3 separate regions of the Homo sapiens genome follow, and regions 1 and 2 are each linked to region 3. The links are contacts of gene promoters, found by promoter capture Hi-C in blood cells and fetal thymus (Javierre and others, 2016). All regions are on one chromosome and are shown on one strand. Each heading gives the region's core, a stretch centred on a gene start or on the middle of the fragment in contact. The rest is flanking DNA. Distances are from core to core; before and after follow the strand shown. Region 1 overlaps PYROXD1 (pyridine nucleotide-disulphide oxidoreductase domain 1). Region 2 holds the start of GYS2 (glycogen synthase 2). Region 3 holds the start of ETNK1 (ethanolamine kinase 1).

Region 1 (4,445 bases), core at 284-2,783, 1.2 Mb before region 3:
CAATTGACTCTTCCTCTCGTGAAAGACTTCTCTGTAGCGTGCGAAGCTGTTTTATAGCATTTTGCCCAGAGTAGAAGTTCTTTCAAAAGTCAATTCTCTCAAACTCTGCTACTGCTTTACCAAGTATATGTAATATTTTAAATCCTTCATCATTTCAGCAATACTCACAGCATCCTCACCAGAAGTAAACTCCATCTCAGATAACTACGTTCTTTGCTCATCCATGAGAAACAACAACTCATCTTTTCAAATTTTATCATGAGATTGCAGCAATGTAGTCTCATCTTCAGGATTCATTTCTAATTACAGTTCTTTTGTTATTTCCACCATATCTGCCTTTCTCCATTGAAATCTTGAATCCCTCAAAGTCATCCATGAAGGTTGGAGTAAACTTCTTTCAAGCTTTTGTTAATGTTGATATTTTGACTTACTCCCTTGAATCATGAATGTTCTTAATAACATCTAGAATGGTGAATTCTTTCCAGAAGGTTTTCAATGTACTTTTCCCAGATCCATCAGATGCATCACTATCTGTGGCAGCTATAGCCTTATGAAATGCATTTCTTTAATAAGACTTGAAAGTAAGAATTACTCCTGGATCCATGGGCTGCAGAATGGATATTGTATTAGCAGGCATGAAAACAACATTCATCTCCTTGTGCATCTCTGTCTGAGTTCTTGGGTGACCAAATGCCTTGTCAATGAGTGTAGTATTTTGAAATGAATCTTTTTTTTTTTTTTTCTGAGCAGTAGGTCTCAATGGTGGGCTTCAAATATTCAGTAAACTATGTAAACAGATGTGCTGTGTATTACTCCATTCTCACAGTATATAAAGAAATACCTGAGAGTAGGTAATATTTATAAAGAAAAGAGGTTTAATTGGCTCATGGTCCCACGGGCTGTACAGGAAGCATGACTGGGGAGGCCTCAGGAAACTTTCAATCACGGGGGAAGGGGAATTATGCACTTCTTACATGGCCAGAGCAAGAGGAAGAGAGAGAAGGGGGCTGGTGCCACACACCTTTAAACAACCAGATCTCATGAGAACTCTAACATGAAAACAGCACTAAGGATGGTGCTAAACTATTAGAAACTGTCCCCATGATCCAGTCACCTCCCACCAGGCCGTACCTCCAACATTGGGGATTACAATTTGATATGAGATTTGGGTGGAGAACCAGGCCCAAACCATATAATGCTGTCATCCAGGCTTTGTTGTTCCATTTACAGAGGACAGGCAGGGTAGATGTAGTATAGTTCTTAAGGGCCCTAGAACTTTCACAGTGGTAAATAGGCATTGGCTTCAACTTCAAGTCACCAGTTACATTATCCCCTAACAGGAGAGTCTGCCTGTCCTTTGAAGCCAGGCATTGACTTCTCCTCTATAGTTGTGAAGGTCCTAGATAGCATCTTTTTCCACTGGAAGGCTGTTTCATGTACACTGAAAATCTACTGTTTAGTGTAGCCACATTCATCAGTTATCAATTGTATATTTTTGTTGTAGAGATGGCTTCTTTACTTAAACATCATGAACCAACCTCTACTAGCTTCAGCCTTTTCTTCTGCAGCTTCCTCACTTCTCTCAGCCTTTACAGAATTGAAAACAGTTAGGGGCTTACTCTGGGTTAGGCTTTGGCCTAAGGGAATGTTGTGGCTGATTTGATCTTCTCTCCACACCACTAAAACTTTCTCCATGTCAGCAAGAAGACTGTTTCGCTTTCTCATCATTCATGTGTTCATTGGAATACCACTTTAGATTTACTTCAAGAATGTTTCCTTTGCATTCACAATTTGGCCATCTGTTCAGGGCAAGAGGCCTGGCTTTCCATGTGCCTTCCTCAATAACCCTAATAATCATTGCTACCTTTTGATTTAAAGTGAGAGATGTGTGATCCTTACTTTCACTTGAACACTTAGAGGCCACTACAGAGTAACTGATTGCCCTGGTTTCAATATTCTTGTGTCTCCGGGAATAAGGAGGCCCAAGGAGAGGGAGAGACATAGGACAACAGCTGGTTGATGGAGCAGTCAGAACACAGAACATTTATCGATTAAGTTCACTGTGTTAGATGGGTGTGGTTCATGACACCCCAAGACAATTACAGTAGTACATCAAAGATTACTAATCACAGATCACCATAAAAGATCTAATAATGATGAAAACTGAAATATTGCAAGAATTACCAAAATGTGACAGAGACACAAAGTGAGCACATGCTATTGGAAAAATGGCACTGATAAGACTTGCTTGATGTGGGTTTGTCACAAACCTTCAATTTGTAAAAAACACACTATCTGCAAAACAGTAGTGAAGCACAATAAAATGTTGTGTCTGCAGTTTTCTGGCACACAACTCCTAAAATTTTTGGCATCTCCAAAGTGATGTGTCCTTTTGTATGCTAACGAGTTGACTGGTTAGCCCCTAGGTGGCTTCAGAATGGGGACTGGTCACAGGAAAGACCAAGACATGATTAGAGTTTAGACTTTCCAACCTACAGGAAGGGAAAGAGGTTGAAGGTTAAGCCAATCACTAGCAGCCAGTAATTTAATCAGTCACCTACATAACACAGTTTCCATGAAAACCCAAAAGGACTGGGTTTGGAGAGCTTCTGGATAGCTGAACATGTGGAAGTTGCTAGAGGGTGGTCTATCTGGAGAGGGCATAGAAGCTTCATGCCCCTTCTTATATGCTTTGCCTTATGTATTTCTTCATCTGTTTCTTCGTGACATCCTTGATAATAAACCAGTAAATGTAAGTAAAGTGTTTCCCCAAATTCTGTGAGATATTCTAATAAATTAATTGAACCTAAGAAAGGGGCTCGTGGGAGCCCCTTGATTTATGGTTGGTTAGTCAGACCAACTGGTAAAACACCCGGGGCATGCAATTGGTATTGGAAGTGGAAGACAGTCTTGTGAGATTGATCCCTCAACATGTGGGACCTGATGCTATCTCCAGGTAGATAATAACATCAGAACTGAATTGAATTAGAGGACAGCCAGATGGTGTCCTGTGCAGAATTAATTGCTTGCTTAGTGTGTAGAAAACACCCCACACACATTTGGTCACAGAAGTATTCTGTGTTGTGAGACTATAGTAGGAGAAACTGAGTTTGTTTTTTCCTATATCCTCAGATCAGGGATAGAGCTTTCTATACCCAGACTACAGTGAATACTCCTGTCCTATTTTAAATTAATCTTTTCTCAAAGGTCACTTCAGATGCATGCAGTAAACTTACAAAAGTTATTAGATGGATTGGAAATACACACTTAATACCCTAATTGGATAAGGAGATGATTTGCTTTTCCTCATTTTGTTAGATATTTTGATTTTTTAATAGTTGTTAAAGGGCTGTGAAATCTAAATGCTGTAAGAAGCATGCATGCAGTCCTTCGTTACTTTGTGTGATTTCTTTAGAGCATTGGTTTTTGGCTTTCAGTAGGTAGGAGGGGAGCTGGCTGCACGGTGTATCTAATTTTTGTGATGGAAATTACACAAAGTCCCTTCTTCTTGCACCTTCAGATCCTAATATTATATTTTTAACCTGAGAACTTCAACAGTTTAATTCAATAAGCATTTATTGAGTATTTACTACCTACGTGGGACTTTATTAATGTTCAGGGATACGACAGTAAGTCAGAACTGACCTGAAGAAAATTTTATAGTCCATAACTGTTGTCATTTTTTAAATTTTTATTTATTTATTTATTTATTTATTTTATTTATTTATTTTTTTTGAGACAGAGTCTCGCTCTGTCACCCAAGCTGGAGTGCTGTGGTATGATCTTGGCTCGCTGCAACCTCTGCCTCCCGGGTTCAAGCGAGTCTCCTGCCTCAGCCTCCCGAGTAGCTGGGACTACAGGCGCACACCACCAGGCCTGGCTAATTTTTTAATTTTAGTAGAGACAGGGTTTCACCATATAGGCCAGGCTAGTCTTGAACTCCTGACCTCAGGTGATCCACCTGCGCCTCGGCCTCCCAGAGTGCTGGGATTACAGGCGTGAGCCACTGTGCCCAACAACTACTGTAATTTTTAAAAAATGCATTTGTAATTATCAATGAGGCCTAGGCTAAAAAGCATTCCCTCGATGCTATCTGCTAATGCAGCTACCAGATCTCTTAAGTTACTGAATGAATTTTTGTTCACTCCTTTCATGTGCATAGAGAGACTTATTTTAGGGCACCCAATGTGGTTTCATTTATATTATAAGAATTATGTTTTCTATACATTTCTACAAGTATACGTTTTTTCTTCATCATTAGTAACCCGGGTTATTCTTTCTGTAAGTATTATGCTAACCAGTATTTTCTTAATTTTAGTTTTCTCATAAGATTCACCTTGAAACTATGTGTGAAGTAAAGAAAATCTACCTTCAGGATGAGTTTAGAATTTTGAAGAAAAAGTCCTTCACTTTTCCAAGAGACCATAAGTCAGTTACAGCTGATA
Region 2 (4,304 bases), core at 225-2,724, 1.0 Mb before region 3:
ACTTTGAACAGTTAGTATAAGGTGAATTCTGATTTTTCAGAATGCATGCCATATATAATGCATTTAATTTTGAGATTATGCTGGCTCTGATTAGCCAAAAGAAGGAAGTAATATATCACATTCTGGTTATTATTTCAGATCCTTTAGATTACTGTAATAGACATGAAATAGTAAACACAAAATGAAAAATAAATGTGTTATATATCACAACACATGACATAATTTCAGATCGTTTAAATCACACAAGTCATCACTGCCATTTACCCAGCAATCAGTTGGCTTGATTCTTCAAGATCTTGAGGAACTCAGCCTTCAAAACCATGACTTTTTCTTTGCTAATGTTCCTTCAATAGTCTTGACACTTTTAAACTAGAGAGTATAAACCCACAAGGAATTGTTTTATAATTTTACAGATGTCTTTATTTTCAAAATCATTTACATTGTGGTTCTCTACCTTGCCTTCTCTTACCCAGCACAGATGAGGTTATACCTCACTCGCAAATTGTTTTATCAATTTGATTTTCTTTATTTTATAATTCCTACATAAGCATAGCATTGAAGAAAAAAATTACTTTCATTCTGAAAGGAGCACAGTATTTTGCCTTTTGAGAAGCTCCTGAATTAAAACATTAATTCCAAGCTAATTGTGAATATGAAACATTCTTAAGCATTTCATATAATTACTAACAGAATGTAGAGTTGAGGTTTCCAACTGGTTCTAATCACATATACATCTTCCTAAAATAAAATGTTTAATTATACTATTTTGCTGAGAAAAATTTTAAAACAAAAAATGTAAATATTAACTTTTTATTTCTATGTTGTCATAATATGGATTTTAAATTTTAATTTAAATGCACATTCCATGGCAATGGCTAATATTTTCAACTTTCTCCCTCTTCAACACATACACAAGTCTGTATTCATAGCCTGTTGTAATAGACAAGGTTAAATGTAGCCTAAATATATATTCCGTTTAAATGCTTTCCTCACTCACTAGCAATTGGTTATCACTAGAGAGTTATCTGTGAAATCTTACTCTACATTCCTCAGTCACCTAGTGAAGGTGTACTGATCCACCTTCAGGAGCAGTACAAACCTTTATTGGTCACTTCCCAAGCAACTTCAAAGAGCAGTAACTCCTCCACAGGAAGTTCTTCGACTTCCCACTGGGGAAGCCCACCCAGGGATGTTACAGAGAGGGATCGGCCTCGAAGCATTCTTCTTACAGTCCTCCGAGACTCCTTTGAATTCCTGTTTCAATTAGTTGTAATCCCAGGAGAAGAGAACTTACAGGCACAAAAGTTAGAGTTGGTAGAGTTACCAGGCTTTGGTAGCTTCTCTTGGGAATAAACTAGTAGCATGAAATCTTATGTGCTTCCCACAGAATTCCTGGTGGAAGGAGGAATTCTTCCTCCTCTTTCTCGTCTTTCTGGGCAGGTATTGTGAGGACGGTATCTGCCCTGTCAGTATCTACCCAAACAATCCAGAGCTGTCAACAGAAAAACCCTCTGATTCAGGACATAGGTAAGCACTTCCTGGGATAGGCAGGGCATGACCCAAGTTCAGCCTTTTAGCCCTTGTCCTTTTGACCAGACTCCTAGATTCATACAGTTACCAATGCTTATTTCATCATTTCCAAAGTGATACAATATTGGCAACTCCCCTCATTAAGTTTGCAGGCCTCCTTAGATTACATGTAGACTGATTGGGACATATTTTTATGCTTTAAATCCCTTTGGATTTCCTAAATATTCTTCTTTCTTTTGATTCCTATTTCTAGAGCTTTTAAAAAATATTCCTAGTTATTTTATTCTACACTTACAAATTGAATTTTGGTGATAGCCAGAGATCTTGAGCCCCCTTTTCTCAATTACTTTTCTTAAAACTTTCCCTATAAAAAAGCATAAATTTGAGTATGTCTTTGGGTGTAACATGAAAAAAAACATAATTTTGACTGGTCAATAATCATCAGTCAATAATTTTAATGAGGTAGTAAAAATAAATCTTTGTCATGTTTGTACATTTCCTTCAAATATTATCAAATTGATAAAGAATAATTCAGTCAATGTAAATGTTCAAACATGGGAAGAAAAATCATCAGGATCAGACTGCAGATAAATGGCATATGTTTGCTTTTCCCTTGTGTTTCTATGTTTGTAAATATATATGTTCCAATTTATTTACACACCCATACACATATATCCTATATTGTACCTACAGAGAGTTGGTGCATTCACAAGCAAGCTTAATTTTGAGCCATCTTTACAGATGTAGCTAAAATCAATATTTTTACATTATTATTCTCTAAAGCAGCAGAACTGAAGCTCATACAAAATATCCTTTAAGTTAGAATTACAATCAGAATTGTAATTTGTTACTTGATAATACTATTTTAGCACCTTTTATTAGGTTTTAAATTATTTTCTATATACTTGGTCTTATAGACTTACACTTATTTTAATGACTCAAGATGGGCAGAACCACATTTCATTATATTACATTAATAAATCTATGTAAGCCAAATAGATTAAATATGTCAGCTTGATGTGGTAGTACACACCTGTTGTTCCAGCTACTCAGGAGGCTGAGGGGGATGAATCACTTGAGCCCAGGAGTTTAAGGCCAACCTGAACAACCACTCTCTTAAAAAATAAAATAAAATAAAAAATTAATTAAAACAAAAATAAATAAATGTCATCTATGATTTTGTGACACAGTTGATTCTTATCTTTGTCCAGAAAAGTACATTTAAGTACATAGTTTGTTATCCATTTGTTTGCGTTGTGAGAAAAAGATTATATGGCTAATAAAAAAAATCAAGTACTAAAATAGAAAACATATGATCCCAAATGATCAAAATGATTGTCTCCTTTATAAAATGGTTTGCTTATGTTCACATAACCTCTGAGAGTCCTGCAAGTGCACATTCCAGTAAAACCAAATCTAAGGACATGTTGACAGGAGTGAGAATGGGATGACAGTGATAGAGTTTCACGTTTGCAGTTTTCTGTTCCAGGAGCCTTGAGATTGGTTCATCCAGTGTCACACAGGCTACAGGAGCACAATGATCCATATTCTCCAGCTTACATGATAAGGCTGAATTATTTATTTGCAATCTGTTCCAGGTATCAACTGCTTAGTTGTGAGTTAGGCACTTGTGGCATCACTTATCTGCTGTGTAAACTTGAGCCAATTTCTTACCTAAGTTTTTGTTTTCTTGATAAAATGGGGATGAGATAATCTATATAAGTCACTTAACATTGTGCCTGGTACTATGCCAACCACTTTAGTAATCTTAGCCTTTTTTATAACACATATGATGGTTTAGTAAAAGCTTTCCCTAATGGCAGAGGTTACCATTGAAAAGGAAAGGGGTAAAAAGAAGGCTTTACTTTTCTTTCATTTTTTTGAAGTTGTACCACCTGTATATATTACCTGATCAAATGCCTAGAGAAAACATTTTTTTCAGAAAAATGACCTTAAGATCAATGAGTATATTTTATAACATCCTAAATGAAAATAAGTAGGATGTAAAATAAAATAAGTAGTATGATTGATTTAATTTTGTGAAAATGTACTCTATACCTCTGTTCATGAAGTATATGTAATAGAAGGCTGGAATAGACATAAACAAAAGACGGGAGGCTACATGTAAAAACTCTTACAATAGTTGTCTTAAACTGGTTGTAATTATGATTGATATTTGTGTGGTATTTTTATTTGTGTTCTACACATTTTCTGCAATAAACGTATACATATATATATATATATATATATATATATATATATATACCGTATATAGGATGAGTAACACAGTTTTCAAAAGTTTAATCATATAAATGAATTAAATACACATGATTGTTTCACACACTCACACTCATTATTCTGATTTTTCGAAATTTCTAGTCTTTAGTTCCCATTTGGCGTTTTTGTGTCAAGTACCAGCACTCTCAGCCACACGTCATCTCCTAATGATCCCTCATAGTAGACTTATTCTCTTGATCCTGTTATTCTCAACATGAGAACATCCTTTGCCAATGCTTTGCTTGTTTATGGTAAATATCATTTTCAAAGTTGTTCATTGGGTTAAGAGAGGTAAAATAAATGGAACCATATGAAGTATATCCATGAGATGGATATATCTTCATCTATCCATAGTATCTGGATGAATTCCCTTTGTTCAGGTATTTGTGCAGAGAAAGGCAGTCATTTGTGCAAAAAGATTTGAAGAGGAATCAGGGAAATTTCTCTTCCTCCCATATCCCTGAACATTCTCCTATAATGTTTGTGCTAAAAGCACA
Region 3 (4,402 bases), core at 1,612-4,111:
GTGCCTGCCACCACGCCCAGCTGATTTTTATATTTTTAGTAGAAACAGGGTTTCACCATGTTGGCCAGGCTGGTCTCAAACTACTGACCCCAAGTGATTCACTCGCCTTGGCTTCAATACTACACTGTCTTGATTATTGGAACATATACTATTTTTTTTTCTTTTTTTAGGCAAGGTCTAATTCTGTTGCCCAAGCTTGAGTGCAGTAACTTGATCATGGCTCACTGCAGCCTCAATCTCTTGGGCTCAGGCAATCCTCCTGTCTCAGCCTCGGAGTAGCTGTGACTACAGGTGTGCACCACCACACCTGGCTAATTTTTTTTTTGGAGAGATGAGGTCTCACTGTGTTGCCCAGGCTGGCCTTAAACTCCTGGGCTCAAGCGAACCTCCTGCCTCAGCTTCCCAAAGTGCTGGGATTACAGGCATGAGCCACTGCACCCAGCTATACTGTCTTCAAGTCTGTCTGTTTTCTCACTTTGTTTTTCTTTAATATTGTATTGGCTATTCTGGCTCTTGTGGCTTTGCATGTAAACATTAGAACTGGTTTGCTGATATCCACAACATAACTTGAGGTGATTAGAATTGAATCAGTAGATCAGGTTGATAAGAACTGATATTTCTTGCACATTTTTAAAGTTTTGCTTTTAACATTTAGGTTTCTAATCTTCCCCAAATTAATTTTTATGCATAATAAGAGGGAGGGATCAAAATTTTTTTCTCATACAAAAAGCAATTGTATCACTACGGTTCATTGATCAGTCTGGACTTTCTCACTAATTTTTAATGCTACTTTTGTTATATACAAAGTTCTCATATGTGTGTAGGTTTTGTTCTGGGACTTTATTATGTTCTAGTAGTTTATTTGCCCATACCTAAACCAATATATAATACATCCTGGTAGGGTTGGTCCTCCCAATATATTCCCTGATCTTACCTGTCCCTATCCTCCTCTCCCCAATTACAGCGCTTTTCTTGGACCTTAAGTTTTGATATGAATTTCAATGTCATTTTAACAAGTTCAGTAAAAAAACCCTTTTGAGATTTTAACTGGAATTGCATTATATGTACTGATTAGTTCAGGGAAAATTGAGGCCTTTACATTAATCTTTTCTCATTTATGAATATGGTTCATTTCTCCATTAATTTTATCCATGGATCCTGTACATTTTCGGTTACTTTTGTTCTCAGGTACCTAATAGTTTTTTTTTCTTTTCTTCTACTTGTTAATGGACTCTTATTTACCATTACAAACTAGTGCAGTTTGCAACATAATTTTCAATTAAATTGTTTTACAGTTACATAGTTTTAAAATTCTTAAAATGTCAACTGCTTAATAAAAAATACAATTTATACAAAAATACAAGAGATACTATCTGAAATGTGAAAGTAGTAGTATATTTATGATTTCTCCCCAAAGTGGAAGGAACACACACTCTAATGTTTCTTGTAGAAAATTATGCCTAAATCTGGCAGGGCGCGGTGGCTCACGCCTGTAATCCCAGCACTTTGCGAGGCCGAGGTGGGTGGATCACCTGAGGTCAGGAGTTCGAGACCAGCCTGGCCAACATGGTGAAACCCATCTCTACTAAAGATACAAAAATTTGCTGGGCGTGGTGGCACGCGCCGGTAATCCCAGCTACTCGAGAGGCTGAAGCAGGAGAATCCCTTAAACCCGGGAGGCGGAGGTTGCAGTGGGCCAAGATCGCGCCATTGCACTCCAGCCTGGGCGACAGAGTGAGGCTCCGTCTCAAAAACAAAACAAAAAAAAACAGAAACAAAAAACAAACAAAAAAACCACTAAATTTGAAAAATGTTAAATCAACTTCTTTGCTGTATTATAAAGCTCCATTTCCACCCCTCTTTTTAGTTTAGGAAGTTTACCGTTATCGGTGAAGTAATTATTTTGTTAATTACAAAGGTAAGTAGGTTCTTTCTGAACAATCAGGATGTAAACTTAATGCTAGTGAAGTAATTAAACATTTTGAATGTTAATTAAACTCAGTCCAGTTAAGGGTTTTATTTACTACTAACAAACGTATTCACCGTGTGCTAAGTGCTGCAGGGAATCCCAGCCCGTTTTCCTCCATCTAAAAGGAAAATTAGGAGGTCCCAATACTTTACTTGTAGATTTTCCAGTTTCTACCATTCCCTGTAAGGCACTGAGACGCAAGATTTCAAGGCCCACTCGGGGTACCCTGGCATGGACATCGAGTCGTTCTAGCGCTGAGCTTCAAAACTATTCCTTTCCTTCCCTTTCTTCTTCATACCAGACTCTAATCTGTTCTCCCTAGCTTCGAATTATTCACTGTATGGTCGAACATCTTACTCCACAAATAACCTCTGAAGTGTTGCAGTTGTCTTACCCAAATACCTGAACTCAGCTTGTCCCGAGTACTGCGATCCCGCGTACTGCTAATGGGAATATAGTTAACCCAACTAGTATGAGGTCCCCAGTACACAGCAGCTCCAAGATCAAGGCGACCGAGTAACACTGCTTGCCTAGACTCAGGCCAAGTTCGGAGAGTGATCCTGGGGTTATTTTAGAACGTGTCCCTTGCTTCCCAGAAAAATTCAGTCGTTAACTCAAGTCCAGATGCCCAATGACCATTCGGATAAGGTGAGCTAAAGCTTCAATGCCTTGAGGGGCTTGGCAGGGCTCGGGCTCATCCCGGAGAAGCAGCCCCGCTTTCCAGACTAGCAGTTCCCAGGGATGGGTGTGTGCTAATCGCAGGCCAACAAGCCCAGCGCGGTACAGAGGTCCCATTGTGACCGGAGGCGAGAAACCCCGCCTCGGCACCCTGACGCAGCGCAGGACCCGCCCCGCGCGTGACGCCAGCGTCAGGCCAGCCCCGGCATGCTCTGCGGCCGCCCGCGGTCCAGCTCCGACAACAGGAATTTTCTCCGAGAGCGGGCCGGGCTCAGTTCAGCTGCTGTCCAGACCCGGATCGGCAACAGTGCCGCCTCCAGACGTTCTCCTGCCGCTCGCCCGCCCGTCCCAGCGCCCCCAGCCCTCCCGCGAGGGCGCCCCGGGACGGAAGGATCCACCAGTCTGTCGGCGCCCGCCGTTCTCGTGGTCGCCGTCGCCGTCGTCGTGGTGGTAGTCTCCGCCGTCGCCTGGGCCATGGCCAATTACATCCACGTCCCTCCCGGCTCCCCGGAGGTGCCCAAGCTGAACGTCACCGTTCAGGATCAGGAGGAGCATCGCTGCCGGGAGGGGGCCCTGAGCCTCCTGCAACACCTGCGGCCTCACTGGGACCCCCAGGAGGTGACCCTGCAGGTAACGCCCACACCTCAGCTCTGGGTCTCTTATGCCCCTCACGCGGCTCTGGGGGTCCTCACCACAATCGCCTCTGTCCCACGATGACCGAGGAGGACCTAGGGCAACATCTCCTTAAGTCTATTGGGAAGTGACCCTGTATTTCCCCTCACACCTAGGAGGGTCACTCCCCCTTCCCGTCGCAGTTGCTCTTTGAGATTGACCTGAGGCACATTTTCTCTTTCTAGAAGCCGCTGCGTAAGTGACGGACCCATCCACGGGGGGAGATTCCTGCTGATAGTTGCCCCTCCTCCCACTCCCCAGTCCACGGTCACTGCAAAATGAACCTTTCCACTCCCCTTGCACGGGGTCCTCGTCTACCTCCTCCCCTCCCACCAGTAATGCAGTCATTAATCCTCTCTGATCTTTCCTTCCTCTCCCCTCCCCCTGCGATGTGCTTTCATTGATGCCTCACACTGCGTTTTGTCTTCCCAAACCCTAGCGTACTCAATTCCCAAAGTAATGACCACGACCATGCATCGCTAGGTCGGTTCTTAGGCAGCACCACACACATTGTTTTGTTTGAGTCGATATTTCTGAATTATTAAAGTCGTCTTACTGAAATTAATACCTGATACTAGAAGGAGCAGTGGCTTGTGACTGTTTCCTTTTCATGAGACACCGTGTTGATAGAGAAAAAATTGGGAGGAAAAAAATCCCTGAGACTCTAGGAGTTTTCTAATAAGTTGGAAGTTATGATTTCCACTACGTGATTTTTTTTGAATACTAATCTGTTTTTAGCTTTAGTTTCAGGAACTAGATACAAAAATAGATCTCTTTTTCTCCTTTTCCCTTGCAAACAAAAAAAAACAGTAATTTTCAAGATTGGGATATTTGGGATTTGTTCTAAATCTGAGCAATAATGTAAGAACATTCATTTGAATTAGCCAAATCATCTGCCTCGTTTTGATGACTAATTTATTCACCAATATTTGTTGATTTATTTGCTAAATTCTTCGCTAAACTAGCCAGCCACCCACACAAAGATGAATAAAACATGAGCAGTGCCTAGGGCCCAGAACAGTTCCTGACACTTGGGTTTTCATGTGTTAGTTTCAGTTCTTATTACCTAGAAGAGTTTTTAAG

The links. The method cuts DNA at HindIII sites, captures the fragments that hold promoters and counts their contacts. A CHiCAGO score of 5 or more calls a contact.
Region 1: a contact is called between a fragment that was not itself captured here and the fragment with the promoter of ETNK1 in region 3, in 1 of 17 cell types (activated CD4 T cells). The highest score is 6.7, in activated CD4 T cells.
Region 2: the fragment with the promoter of GYS2 here is called in contact with the fragment with the promoter of ETNK1 in region 3 in 3 of 17 cell types (activated CD4 T cells, total CD4 T cells and non-activated CD4 T cells); the score reaches 8.0 in activated CD4 T cells.

What each region holds. Positions count from the first base shown.
Region 1 is chr12:21,456,707-21,461,151 of GRCh38, forward strand. PYROXD1 (pyridine nucleotide-disulphide oxidoreductase domain 1) reads left to right here. Exons shown (of 12, transcript NM_024854.5): 8 at 4,319-4,445. Among named protein-coding and RNA genes, the nearest start is that of PYROXD1, 21 kb to the left of the region's middle. The HindIII fragment of the contact is 2,267 bases long and covers 401-2,667 here.
Region 2 is chr12:21,603,373-21,607,676 of GRCh38, forward strand. GYS2 (glycogen synthase 2) reads right to left here and starts at 1,475. Exons shown (of 16, transcript NM_021957.4): 1 at 1,100-1,475. The coding sequence starts at 1,220. The HindIII fragment of the contact is 12,472 bases long and covers 1-2,245 here.
Region 3 is chr12:22,622,310-22,626,711 of GRCh38, forward strand. ETNK1 (ethanolamine kinase 1) reads left to right here and starts at 2,862. Exons shown (of 8, transcript NM_018638.5): 1 at 2,862-3,277. The coding sequence starts at 3,122. It overlaps ETNK1-DT (ETNK1 divergent transcript), which reads right to left and starts at 2,737. Exons shown (of 4, transcript NR_135030.1): 1 at 2,364-2,737. RefSeq lists enhancers at 2,507-2,576, 3,107-3,276, 3,296-3,985. The HindIII fragment of the contact is 2,136 bases long and covers 2,627-4,402 here.